Regions from separate parts of the Homo sapiens genome. Here all the other regions are linked to region 1. The links are contacts of gene promoters, found by promoter capture Hi-C in blood cells and fetal thymus (Javierre and others, 2016). All regions are on one chromosome and are shown on one strand. The core of a region is centred on a gene start or on the middle of the fragment in contact, and the rest is flanking DNA. Distances in the headings are between cores, read along the strand shown.

Region 1 (3,431 bases), core at 493-2,992:
GAGATAGGTTTATATTTACAAAAAATAAGAGCCCACTATAAAATATGGTCAATACAGTCAATTTATTTCCTCTAAATACATTGTGAAATCAAATTTACACTTTCATCGTCTTTCGGAAATAACAATGTCACCTGGAAATGTAAGAATTTTAATATTATGTTTCACATTTCTTCTAGGAAAGTAATTAGTCTTGTTAATTAGGAAAAATGCCAAAGGCAAACATTAGCGCATGAACTGGACTTGTGGTCTTCCAAGAACACTTTTATAACTAAATTTTTTTTTTTTGAGTCGGAGTCTTCCTCTGTCGCCCGGGTTGGAGTGGAATGGTTTGATCTCGGCTCACTGCAACCACCGCCTCCCGGGTTCAAGCAATTCTCCTGCCTCAGCCTCCCGAGTACCTGGGATTACAGGCGCCTGCCACCACGCCGGGCTAATTTTTGTATTTTTAGTAGAGACGGGGTTTCACCATCTTGGCCAGGCTGCTCTATTTGGCCAGGTTGGTCTCGAACTCCTGACCTCGTGATCAGCCCGCCTCAGCCTCTCAAAGTGCTGGGATTACAGGCGTGAGCTACCCTGCCCAGCCTATAACTAAATATTTTAGTTACTTTAAACACAGCTCAAAAGTGGAAACGGCACACCAGAGCTCTAGTTCCAGCACAGCACTGTCTAGACAGGTGATGGACAAGACATTTTTCCTGTCTGGAACGCAATCTGAAAGAATGGGTGGATGGGGGTTGGGTCAGATGGATGATTTCTATTAAGTTTTCCGGGGATTCTGACATGCCCTCTAGGTTCACGTGAGAATCAATGGTCCACATCTGAGGTTTTGGGCCTTTAGATGACCATCGGAAACCCTGGGAAGCATGTTCGTAATATTCTGGGATATCCTCAAAATGTATACATCATCATGCCTGGGCATGAGGTTATTCGTGTTTTTAATTTTAAAAGGTAATAAATGGACGTGGTTTTAAAACATATGAGATAAAAAATATCCAAAATGAAGTATCTGTCTCCCATCCTTAACCTCAGATCTAATCCCCAGAAGCAACCACCACTTACAATTTCTACTGAATTCTTCCATATTCTATGCATTCACAGGTGAACATACATCACAAGTTACCTGTTTTGTACCCAAATGGCGGCATACCATAGTGTTCCACACTTCCCTTTGAAAATCATCCCCATTGGTACATACGAGTCGACCTGATGTGTCAGGTATACATATACCCAAATTTACTTAAACAGCTTTCTGCTGACGGGCAAGGCAGATATTTCCAGTAATTCGCTATTACAAGCAATCCTGAAGTGAAACACTGCGCACATCATTGTACACTGCGGTACACGCATGTTTCTGGTAAATCCTTAAGACTTAAAACTGGTGGGTATTTTTAATTTTAATCGCTATTTCCAAATAGGTGTCAAATCAGCTCTCCAGAGAATTCTGAAGCGCAGCTGAAATGACGATGCACAGCACTCCGCGATTCTAAGGATCTTCCCTGACATTAAATATTCGACTTGCAAAGCCGAAACTCAGTCCTTCCAGACTGGGCCAGGGCTGCCGGAGGCCGGCCGTTTTCCGACGCCTCGCCTCTGAGAACCTCGGGGCGGCTTGGTGCGCGCCTCACCCGGCCCGGCGTCACCCTCGCGGTCCAGCTGGGCCTCGGCGTCCGGCAGGAGGAGGAATCGCCGCCGGAGCTGCTGCCGGGCCCGCGAGGAGTCCATCTTGGTACCGCCCCGAAATGCGACGGAAGTGACGTCAGACACAGCGCTTCCGGCGTCCGCTCCGGGTCTGGACCTCCTGGCGTTTGGATTGGAGACTGTGTTCTCTTCGCTGTTTAGTTAGCGAGCAGCTAGGGTGGAGTCGGCCTCAAAGGTTCCGCTCTCATGTCGGCAAGTGTGATTTGAATTTTAAAACACTGAGCTTTGCCGGTGGAAGAGTTCCCAAGTTTATTCCGACCTACGGAAGCCCAGGAGGACCAGGATTACCGCTGCCGCTGGATGCGTCCAGGGCCGGGATGCGCGACCGTGAGACGCTGCGCTTCCGAAGCCCTCGCAGGCTTCCGGGTGCCAGAGCAGGAGACATACCCTCTGTCCAGCCTTCCACTCTCAGCCCCCAGTTTTTTTCCTACTTTTGCTTTTCAGGAGTCGTCCAGCAAGACTTGAAAGGAGGAGAAAGGCCTGCTGGACAGGATGCTAGAGCCTGGCAGTGACCACTTGGGGGCCCTGGGCATTAAATAAACTTCTTGGGGCCCGTTTCGTTATTACACTTGGCTCTAGATTTGTTGTGCGTTTCAGTGAGAAGTACCTGTATGTGGTTCATGTGAGCCTCCTCCTCGCCACTTGTGAAAAATCCTCCCAGCCTGAACCGAGGGAACTAAATTGCTTTCCCAGCAAACTGCGGTTTTCCACACTGCTCACGCCCACAAACTGTGTGTTACGAGTTCACAACTTTTTCTTCGTCAATAATCCCGCGTATTACTCTCCCAGCCGTTTCCCAGCGTGTCATGTGCTGAGAAATGGTGGGCTTAGCCACGCAAACGTTTACTGAGCATCTACTATTTGGTAGGAGCTGTTAGGCACCATGCTAGCAGTGGAGATAAAGATGAGTAAGACATGGCCTTGCACGTGAGGAGCTCCTTGTCCAAAGAAAACCACAGAGGTATATTACAAGAAAACTCTATTTGTAAATGTATGAAAGCATTTCATCAATGCAGCCAACATTTTCTGAGCAGCTGCATGTGATAAAATGGTGAGGACAGAAGAATCTAGTAGAGGAAGCAGCTTCAATACAGTGCCATAATAAAAACACTGTACATGGGGCATAATAGAAACACTGTACATATAAAGGGCAGTTTATTCTGCTGCAGTGTGGGAGAGCAGGGAGAGTGGTTTCAGGTGAGTTGAATACAGGGGTGGAGAGCCAGCTACATAGGAAGTAAAATTTGAATTAGTAGGCACTGTTTAATATCTTCGATGTGTTGGGGTGTTTGTAAAAGGAATGTAATAAGAAATACTCAAGAAAAGAGTGCCAGCCGCGCGCGGTGGCTCACGCCTGTAATCCCAACACTTTGCGAGGCCGAGGCGGGCGGATCACAAGGTCAGGCGTTTGAGACCAGCCTGGCCAACATGGCGAAACCCCGTCTCTACTAAAAATACAAAAGTTAGCCGGGAATGGTGGCCGGCACCTGTAATCCCAGCTACTCTGGAGGCTGAGGCAGGACAATCACTTGAACCTGGGAGAAGGAGGCTGCAGTGATCCTGCCACTGCACTCCAGCTTGGGCAACAGAGTGAGATTCCCTCTCAAAAATAAAAATAAAAAAAATTAAAAAAAAGAGAGAAATACCAAATCCCTACTGATTTATCATTTCTTCAGCCTTTCTTCCCCCTTCGGAGCACAGGATTTAACAGCTGGGTGGATCATATGGCCTTT
Region 2 (3,431 bases), core at 282-2,781, 210 kb after region 1:
GGTACCAACTCAGTGAATATGTACCCTGCAGACAGAACAGACCTAGAAATGACTAGTTCCAAGAACATTCGATTAACATCCTCCTACTCTATATTTTGATTTAATGGAAACTCAGCTCAGTGAAATTGAAAAGGTCTAAAGGTTAATTTGATAAAACTGATTATTTAATTAAAAGGTAATGTTCCTTTAGGAAACATTATATATATACATTAACCTTCTAAATTGAAAATTGACAGTATGGTTATTCTATTAGTAAGAACAACAGAAACCAAGGAAGTTTTTTCTCCCAGATTGTTTTGTTGCCAGGATATTGTGGAAAAAGTCCATCTACCAGAAGTGGAGACATTATTTTTAATTAAAATCATTCAGAGATCTAGCCACAGGCTATCTAGGTTACATGCTGTTCTGCTCTAGTAAAATGTCATTATTAAAAAAAAATTAAATGGGTCAATAAAGTCTGAGCTCTACATTCTGGAAAAAATTACAGCTTCCTAATTATGTCAAACTAACAAAGCCTCATAGGTCTGAAGGCAGTATTTCTACACATATTCTTTCAATTCCATGATCATACTCCACATAAAATGTTCCTAGGAGCAGGCCAAGGCTAGCACATTGCACTGGGAGGGCAGAAGAGTAAAAAAGAAAGGCTTTAAGCAGTCTACCACCTTTGGGAGGGAGAACTTGATGAGAGACAATAAGGGTGGTCTTTCTCCACCTGGACAGAACCTGGGCTACCGGGGGGAATGCTTATTCCCTAATCCTCATGTTTCTGTGGGAACCAACTTCCCCAAATGACACCTTGCCTCCTCCCAGAGCCTCCTCCCTCTGGCCCCCTCGCAGAAAGCATGGGGTGTGCATATAGTCACCACACCTTTCTCTCCTCTCTTTTACCTACTTAGAGACAGCAGAGGTTCCGCTCTGTTCCTCTCTCTCCTATGTTGCAAAGGGGCCTGTCCCTGCTGTCTGTGCTCCAGGGGCTGCGGCTGCGCAGTGGCACTAATGCCTGAGTGTGTCTAATTCAAGAGCAGAGTATCAACAAGGCCACCCGCCTGCAAACCAAAGCTTTGTTTGCTGACCTAGATTTTACCAATGATAAAGCTGATATGACACGTGGGTCTCCACTGTGTTGATCTGACTCCTGCCTCCATTTCTTTCTTTCTCCCTCCTCCCAGCTCTCTGGCAGGAAACAGAGGTGGGTTTTGTCTTGTTCAATAACCAACACCCTCCAACCCCCTGCAACTGCAGCATAGGTCAAATGGGGTTCCAATTCAATTATCATTCACCAGGAGACTTCTATGTGTCAGGAACTCTCATACCCACCTAATTTAATCCTCACGAGAACATCATCCACATTTTATAAAAAAGAAAACTAGCACAAAGGCAAGTTATATTCATTCACATGATAAATACATGGCAGGATTGGGACTGGAACTTAGGTGTGACTGACCCCAAAGCCCATGCTCTTTCACAGGGACCAAAACAGGGGGTGGAGTAGAATTCAGTGTGCATGAGTTGGCAATGAACAACTGGCCTCGGGAAAATGAGTAAAAGATAAAAGACTGAGTTTCTAGCTGGGTATCATGTCATATGCCTATAGTCCCAACTACTCAGGAGGCTGAGGCAGGAGGATCACTTGAGCTCAGGATTTTGAAGCTAACCTGGACAACATAGCAAAACCACCTTAAAAAAAAAAAAAAGACTGAGTTTCTAGAATGAGGCGATGTACCTAACAAAATGAAGAATGCCTCGGGGACAACAGTTCTATCTTCTGAAGTTATCTGCCCTTAAGTGGCAGAGCTGGCACTGGCCCCTAGGGAACCCAATCCTCAGTCCTAGCATTTGCTGCCCTTGTAGCTGGGAAAGGGGAAGGCTTAGGCCCTTCTTTACTGTACTAAGATGAGAATCCATGCTGCAGTAGTCTGGGAACACTGAAAAACAGTGTGCAGGAGCCTCCTTTTGCTGTTTGAGTATAATAACTGCCTTAACATCACTATTACATCGAAAGCTTAAAACAACTGCAAAGTTGCAGAAGAACACCCGGATGCCACTGTGTTGTTCTTTTCACATTGCATTTGAATCATACTGTCTGCTTTGAACCTCTCAACTGCTTCCTGAGTGAGTATCCCTCCCACTGTTGGCTTTGCAAATTTTTTCTGAAAAGGGCCAGAGAGTAAACATGTTAGACTTTGTGGGCCTTGTAGCCCATCACAGCTACTCAACTCTGCTGTTGTAGCATAAAAACAGCCCTAGACAATATGTAAACAAATGAACGTGGCTGTGTGCCAATAAAACTTTATTATGGGCACTGAAACTTGAATTTCACATAATGTTCACATGTGATAAAATATCCTTATTACTTTTTCCCCAACATTAAAATATGTAACTACATTTAAAAGTATATTTAAAATGTAGATTTGGCCTGTGGCTGTTATTTGCTGACCTGTAGCATTAGAGGAAGACACTGAGTTTCACAGATTCACATGGTTCGTAAGGAGTGGTGTGAATCAAACCAACACTCTAAGCATTTACTTTGCTGGATTTCTTTTCAAGGAAAAGGGAAGTTAATAAGTGATTTGTATGAAAGATATTTACAACCACCTCGTCAACCTAACTTGTCAGATACTAAAGAAAGAAGCTACAAATTGAGAGCTTTATACAAGTTTTGTAAAGTTTTACAAAATCACTGTAGCTTCCATTTTTTACAGCCTATCAAATCAGTATTTGATACACATACACACCTTTAGAAATAAAATTGACACTGCGATCTAGTGTTAACCAACTATTTTTAACTCAGAGCTTAAAAATAAGGTTTTCTTGGTACTATGCATCGGAATAATTATTTTAGTATATTCCAAAATAATGCAAATGAAGTGCATTTAAAAGCATAAAATTGCCTATGGATGTTAAGTGCAAGTAGACAAAGCATCAAGGATTATTTAAAATTCAACTAGGGTATAATTATTTTTCTCTATTGGAGAATTTATAAGAAGTATTTCCATTTTTGCATATATTGACAAAGTTAAAAAAAAGCAGGATTTATTTTATATTCTCTATCTTTGTGACAGGAATGCTTCTGAAAGGCAACCACCCCTCGTTTTATAAAGATGAAATCCTAAAAAGATGCTCCTAATGATGTTATCTTATCTGTCAAATCCAACTTTTTCATTAATTTACATAATACATTTGAAGATGAGTCCTACGGTAAAATGCCATCCTAAAGCCAGTGCAAATGGAGCTAGGGGAAGAGACGAGACAAGACACCTGTACTCCCACTGTCTATGGAGAGCTGGAGTCTATTCCAGAAAGCGTTTTAGAAGTGTTGCTTATAATGTTTTTTTCTCTTTTTCTTTCCAAATGGCATTTTCGATGACTTGCATCATTCCTTCATCTGCTCGATAAATATTTAGTGTGTGAGAAACTATCTTTTTCAT
Region 3 (3,431 bases), core at 517-3,016, 170 kb after region 1:
ACTTCCCTTCCGTCCTCATTTGAATTGGTTGTTTTGGGATATTTCATAAGTTGTTGTTTTCCAATTGATTAAAAATGACAACTAGTGCAAGATCTTCAGTGAAGTAAGGCCTGCTGTCCCATTACACTGGCACCCTTGGAGCCCAAGTGCCCATCTGCCATGGCACTCACCAGCCAGTCTATTAAGAATAATCAAGGCCAGGCTTCCCCTGTGCTGTGCTCTCTCAGGGCAAGATCCATGCCCGTTTTTGCTCATCACTGTATCTATTCCTCCAAGCTCAGGGAAGGTGCTCAGTAACTGTTGGCTGCCAACTGGAGACACACTGGCACCCCCTCTTGCACCGACGCGTGCTCTCAGTGGCCTCTTGTCTTTCAGAACACCCAGTGCATCCCAGAAGGCTTGGAGAGCTACTACGCGGAGCAAGACTCCAGTGCCCGGGAGAAATTTTACACAGTCATAAACCACTACAACCTGGCCAAGCAGAGCATCACGCGCTCCGTATCGCCCTGGATGTCAGTTCTGTCAGAAGAGAAGCTGTCCGAGCAGGAGACTGAAGCGGCTGAGAAGTCAGCTTAGCGGGATGGGCAAGTTCCTTACAATGTGTCACTTGCAAATAACAAAGGGACTTTGAGGGACATTTCATTAAATATAATTACTGATACTTTAGAGGTTACTCATTTACGGTGCAATTGCTTCTGTTTGCTAATGCTGCTTTGCAAATAAAACTTGCTGCCGACCACCCACGGGCATAAAATCAAGTGCATTTCAGCATTGCCTAAAGAGCTCTGACACCACTTTTCATGTTAAGATCTTCATTTAGCTCCTTTACTGGGATTTATTGGATGCTGTAAAAAAATAAATTTACACTGGATATGCGAAGGGTTTGGATCTCAGATAAATGCATTTTGTGGAATTGATTTTCTGAACCGACCCTGCTGTCTGCAAACCTTCCTCCATAGCCATATCTAGAGTGATCTCTCGCTGTGCTAAGAGCAAGCCTACTTCGCATTTCTTCCTCGGCCATCAGCGGGTAACAGTGCTGACTGCTGCCAAGGTGCACTGTAGTAAGTAAGTGGCATAGAGAACGAGGAAAAAGACCCCCCCACCCCTCCCTGTGCTGACTCCTGAGTCGGGGTGGGACGGCCCTGCAATGTGGCAGGCTCGGTGTGGATTGACTACTCCCTCCCCTCTGACTCTGGCATCTTGGTAAGGAGGGAGGGGCACCACCCATCTGGGTGGAGACAGCTGGGGTTTGCTCCAGTGTGTGTAGACTGGCAGAGCATGTGAGGGAGAGGGCTGGGAAGAGACGGCCCTGGGCCCGTGAGGTGCAGAACTCTCCCTGCAGGTAGTCTGTCTGCTCTGTGATGTGCTGATAGGAAAGAGCCCCCACTGGCCCTCTGGTTCACTTCTATTATGAATAAATTTGCACCAATAGCCCCATTAGTTTTTAAAGAAATGAGCTGGGTGGGAAAAGTGGAAATGTAATTTCTGGTAAGCTTGAGCTACTTTAATTTTTATTCTATGAAACTGATATCCCTTGATGTGGGAAACAGGCAGGAAAGGCTGTGGGGTGGGGGTGGGGGACTGGTGTGGCACCGTGCAAACAAAATGACAAATTTCAACTCACAATCTTTGTAAGAAAATTGTTCCAGTTTGAATCTTGATATTAAAGTTTATGTTTACAAAACTGCCAGTTAGATGAACTAAGTGTGTAAAACAAATAGAAAAGACATTCGCAGACATTTCTTCTATGTTATTGAATGTGTTGTTTCTGGTGTACGTGTCAAAAGTTTCAGTTTTTTAGATCAGAAATAAACGACAAATAGTGTGAGATGTGTTGTGAACAGGCATGGTGACCGTGGTCAGCGCCACTCTTGTTTCCTGAAATGTGCTTCTAAGACAGAAAATGTATTTTCTCATCAAGGGTGTCTGGAGACACAGACCGTGACCTTGGCGCAGCGGTGTGCATCAGAGGCGTGTGCTGAGAAGGGTGGTGTTAAGCTGTGGAAAATGACTCAAGAGCAATAAATCAGTGCCAAAGCTTCCCTGCGCATCTGAATAGACACAAGTGAAGCCCGTGTGCGCACAGTGCAGAGGCCGAGCCTGTATTTCCAGGTAGACGTGGACTTTATTGACTGTGAATTCATTTACATGTAACTTCTGACATTTCACTCTGTGCAAATAAAGAACATGAGGATACCTGTGCTGCCCAGTGGACTGTCTGTACACACACGCATTTCACCAGGCGCAGTGCAGACTGTCTCATGCCCATGTGGGCGCTGGGATGCTTCCTGTACAGATGTCTCATGCCTTCAGTTACACATAGGTGTTCCTGTTTACAGTTCCTGGAGGTCAGAAGCACAGGCACGAGAGAAGCAGGCCCGTTCTTCCGTGGCCCACTTCTTCCTTTGAACAAAGGCTCCTTGGACCCAGTGGCGGGAAACTGGCCCTCCCACACCCCCTGCCTGTTCTGGGGGCAGCAGTCTTTGGAGGAGTAATGCCAGGCAGCCCCTCACTGAGGGCCCCAGTCTCCCCTGCATTTCTTCCCTGATTGATTGATAGGAGGTGGCTGGGCTGCCACTGAATTTGTCAACTTAGACTCATTGACAACACATTAAGGGGCTGTAATTATATTTATTAGATTAACAAGGCAGATGTGAATTTTCTCTTCTATAATCCAGTAAGTCTGTGTATTCGTTGACTCAGACAGACAAGAAGCCACAAGGAAACAAAGAAGTAATCATTTGTTGAGAGACGTTATTAACTATGATCTTCCCTGAAGCTACCGGGATGGGAAAGGTCAGTGTCTTCCTTTGAACCCTGAGACAATTAGGGGCTCTTGAGGCCTGCTGTGCCCCTGCTGCCAAGGCAGCCTCAAGTTCAAGGAGCAGCTAATCACCCACTCCTGCATTCAGTCTGTCTTGCCTGATGAGGGCTACGCAGGCTGCCTCCCATTGGTGTGCACTGTTTCCTTTTTCAGCTGCTAAATGGCTGAACACCATCGGCCTGGGGTATCCCTTTTTGGGGAATACGTCTGTCTGTCTGAACTCCTTTCCCTTCAAATGGCACTGTGATAAAATCTGGTCATACCATGCTCCAGCACTGGAAGTACATGAAAGCACGCAGTCTGTGAGTGCCCATGAGGACTCTCGTGCTGGGCCCCCGTGGCCCTGGCTAGCTGTCGTACCAGTCGAGGAAGAGCAAGGAGAAGGAGCACATCACGAGGAAGAAGAGGATCCACACGCGGAAGCCAGCGTTGTTTTTAATGGCCTGGGCAGGGACGGGAGCACAGGTGTTTTTATCACACAGGATTTTGGTTTGAGCAGCCCTGAAATGCCCCCCTCTTCCCACGTGCTCTCCTGATCCTGGCTGTAACTATGGGTGTCGTTCCATCTGTGCTTACCTTGAATAGATGGCTTTTGAGATCCACC
Region 4 (3,431 bases), core at 606-3,105, 140 kb after region 1:
AGCCCCATAATCGTATTTACCCAGTGAAAGCAAAGAAGTAGAGTGAGTCCATTCATTTCTTAGCCATTTACTGAGCGTCTCATGTGGCCAAGCGCTGGGAAACACAAAGGTAAATAAAACGCTGGAGAGCACTAGAAACTATATTTATGATTTCATTTATATATTATGTATTTTAAATAATAACATTTGGGGTTTTCCAGAAATGGGTATTTTGCAGTAAGGTGAACTCTAAGAAGAGAGCATCACAACGATGTCATGGGCAAACCTGCCTTCGGTTTTAATTAGACCATGAATTTTCTTTTCTTTCTTTCTTTTTTTTTTTTTTTTTTGTTCTTGTTCTGTTGCTGAGGCTGGAGAGCAGGGTGCAATCACAGCTCACTGCAGCCTTAAACTCCTGGGCTCAAGCGATCCTCCCACCTCAGCCTCCTGAGTAGCTGGGGTCACAGGTTTGTGCTACCACACCTGGCTAATTCTCTCTTCCCTCCCTCCCTCCCTTCCTTCCTTTCTTTCTTTTTCTTTTTTTTTTTTTTTTATGGGGGTCCACTTTGTTGTCCAGGTGGTTCTCAGACTCCTGGGCTCAAGGGTTCTTTCCACTTCAGCCTCCCAAAGTGCTGTGATTAAAGGGATGAGCCACCAGGCCTGACCTGACTTTCTTACTATGCACTTGAATTCGAATTTACACCTCTGATGTTCATGTCTTACTTTACTGTGAATGTAAGCTAAGTGGATGCCTATTCAATTAAGCAAACATTTCCTGATTACCAGGCCATGCTCTAGACAGGGGGGATATGGAAATGAAAGATTAAGTGGTTCTGCCTGATTTGCTCATGATCTATATAGAAATGTAAATACCCAGACTCCGGGATAGAGGAGCATAAAGAAAGGCCAAGCTTCAAAGAGGAGGCAACATTGGATCTGGGCTTTGGAGGATGAGGAGCAGTTTGCAAAATCGATGAGGAGTGGGGAAGGCAATCTAGGCAAGAGAAGCAGCATTTGCAAAGGCCTGGAGGCAGGCACTTGGGGGAATGGAGAATTTGGCTACAGGACAGGGTTTAAGGAGAAACAGGGATGACTTCACCCAGGTGGGCTGATTCTTCACATTGCAAATGGATTGTCCCATTTGCAGAAAGATCCAGAGCCTAATGTCTCTCCCGATTCTGTGTCAGTGTGCCGGCTGATCCCAGTGTGCCGGCTGGTCCCAGCGTGCCGGCTGGTCCCGTGGATTGAGAAGTGGACCCAAGAAACTTAAAACCATCAGAGATGAGGATGTGTGCAGGGAGTGACTGTTGTGGGATGCAGGTTTCTTTACGGGGTGATGAAAATGTTCTGAAATTAGTGGTGATGATTGTACAACCTTGTAAATATACTAAAACCAGTTAAGCGTATACTTTAAACTGGTGATATCTGTGGCATGTGAATTACATCTCAATCTAAAAACAAGACATTTGGATGAAGCATCGCTGGATCGACGTGGCCAGGCTGCAGAAAAACAGAGCAGAACCTCTGCTGATCACCTGCCACTGAACCTCCATAGGCTGACAGCACTGGGTGGCCACCCTCCCAGCAGGACCTCATCCATCCTGGAGATCTGGCTGGCTGTGGGAGGCCTGACTAGATCCTGCAACCCATCCCAGCTCTGCAGGGAAGCCTGTGGCCGGGGACTCATCATTTGACTTCTGTGACCTGCAAAGAGGCTCATGAGGCCTCTAGGGGAAGAGTCACCTTAGTCACTCTGAACACTTGTCACATAACCAGGAAAAGTGTCTATCACCTCGCCCTGGCTCCAGCACCGGCTGCTAAGAATAGAGACCACAGGAGTACAGAATTAGAGGTCAAAGCAATAGTAATACCTAAAACAGGCACTTAAAAAAATAAGAATAGCTCATTTGATTCTCACAACACTGCTCTGATGGAGGTTTCATTATCTCCATTTATAGATGGGGAAACTGAAGCATAGAAAGGTTAAGCAGCTTGCCTGAAGTCACACTGCTAGGAAGAGAGGGACAGGATTCAAAATCGGGCCACGGCTTAGCCACTGTGTCACATTGTCTCTTGCTGTGACAGTCTGGACTTCAACCAGTGGGACAAGGGAAGTTGCTAAAACGCTTGGACCTGGAAGTACCAGGGTCATTAGAGAGCAGCGCCTGGCTGCCCTGAGGAGAGGGAGCAGGGTAGGAGTTACAATCGTACAGGCAGTGATGGGTCTGTGCCTGAGATCAGCAACCCTGGAAGTATTCCTAAAAGAGTCATTTAGGGCCAGGTGCAGTGGCTCACTCCTGTAATTCCAACACTTTGGGAGGCTGAAGCAGGTGGATCACGAGGTCAGGAGATCAGGACCATCCTTACCAATATGGTGAAACTCCGTCTCTACTAAAAATACAAAAATTAGCTGGGAGTGGTGGCACGTGCCTGTAATCCCAGCTACTCAGGAAGCTGAGGCAGGAGAATCACTTGCACCAGGGAGGCGGAGGTTGCAGTAAGCTGAGATCACGGCACTGCACTCCAGCCTGGCGACGGAGCAAGACTCCGTCCCAAAAAAAAAAAAAAAAAAAGAGTCATTTAGAAAAACTGAGTATGTGTCAACAATCTTCTGTGGCACTTGGATTTTAAATTGTTGGTGCTGGGATGAAACTGGTCCAGGGGGAGATCGCATCCCATTGATTTTCCCTTTTTGTATGTTGTGAAAATACCTGACATCTGTTTGACCTGCAACCACCATTGCAGCCTCAGCCATCCCCATTTTGGTGGCTGTGGCTTCTTCAACCTAATTTCTGCCACCCTCTGTGAATGACTTGGGTTCTCCAAATCACCACACCCTTGCAAGCTTAATGCCTGTAGTGAGCTGAATGGCGACCCTTAAAAGATATGTCCACATGCTAACCCCGGGAACCTGATTTACCTTACATAGTAAAAGAGTGAACATTATCTTATATGGCAAAGATAGGATTAAGTTAAGGATTTTGAGAGGGAGACCTTATCCTGGATTATCCCAGCAGGCCCTAAATCCTATGATGAGTGTCCTTATAAGAGACACAGAGAAGAGGAGGAGGCAATATGACTGGAGTGACATGAAGGCAGAGATTGGAGTGATGCAGCCACAGTCAAAGAATGTCTGGAGCCACTGGAAGCTGGAGGGGGAAAGAACAGGTTCTTCTCTGTGGCTTGTAGAGGGAGTGAGGCCCTGCTGGGACCTAGACTTTAGACTTCTGGCCTCCAAAGCCAGGAGAGAACATGTTTCTATTGTTTTAAGCCAAATTTGTTCCAACAGTGGCAGGAAGCTCATATACTGTCTTAACACATTCTGTTCTCCTACCTGGAATGCCTTCCCCTCTGCACGCACCTCTCTCAGGCCCACCTGTAGGAAGCTTTATCCACAGTCTTTACCCACAGTCTCTGGATGTCCTCCCTCCTGGCAAGAGGCAGAGGCCACT

Evidence for each region. Contacts are between HindIII fragments. The CHiCAGO score rates a contact against its expected background, and 5 or more counts as called.
Region 2: a contact is called between a fragment that was not itself captured here and the fragment with the promoter of TMEM128 in region 1, in 4 of 17 cell types (naive CD8 T cells, total CD4 T cells, total CD8 T cells and 1 more). The highest score is 7.4, in naive CD8 T cells.
Region 3: a contact is called between a fragment that was not itself captured here and the fragment with the promoter of TMEM128 in region 1, in 4 of 17 cell types (naive CD8 T cells, total CD8 T cells, naive CD4 T cells and 1 more). The highest score is 7.0, in naive CD8 T cells.
Region 4: a fragment that was not itself captured here is called in contact with the fragment with the promoter of TMEM128 in region 1 in 2 of 17 cell types (total CD8 T cells and naive CD8 T cells); the score reaches 6.1 in total CD8 T cells.

The regions. Positions count from the first base shown.
Region 1 is chr4:4,246,481-4,249,911 of GRCh38, forward strand. TMEM128 (transmembrane protein 128) reads right to left here and starts at 1,743. Exons shown (of 5, transcript NM_001297551.2): 1 at 1,626-1,743. The coding sequence starts at 1,722. RefSeq lists enhancers at 1,085-1,711, 2,014-2,123. The HindIII fragment of the contact is 7,732 bases long and covers 1-3,431 here.
Region 2 is chr4:4,461,011-4,464,441 of GRCh38, forward strand. All of the region lies in intron 2 of STX18 (syntaxin 18), which reads right to left. Among named protein-coding and RNA genes, the nearest start is that of STX18-IT1, 19 kb to the right of the region's middle. The HindIII fragment of the contact is 943 bases long and covers 1,061-2,003 here.
Region 3 is chr4:4,416,860-4,420,290 of GRCh38, forward strand. It overlaps NSG1 (neuronal vesicle trafficking associated 1), which reads left to right. Exons shown (of 5, transcript NM_014392.5): 5 at 376-2,199. The coding sequence ends at 576. STX18 (syntaxin 18) reads right to left here. Exons shown (of 11, transcript NM_016930.4): 11 at 2,109-3,270. The coding sequence ends at 3,175. Among named protein-coding and RNA genes, the nearest start is that of NSG1, 31 kb to the left of the region's middle. The HindIII fragment of the contact is 545 bases long and covers 1,495-2,039 here.
Region 4 is chr4:4,381,526-4,384,956 of GRCh38, forward strand. It overlaps LOC112268462 (a long non-coding RNA gene), which reads left to right. Exons shown (of 3, transcript XR_007058004.1): 3 at 2,997-3,084. Among named protein-coding and RNA genes, the nearest start is that of NSG1, 3.9 kb to the right of the region's middle. The HindIII fragment of the contact is 1,934 bases long and covers 889-2,822 here.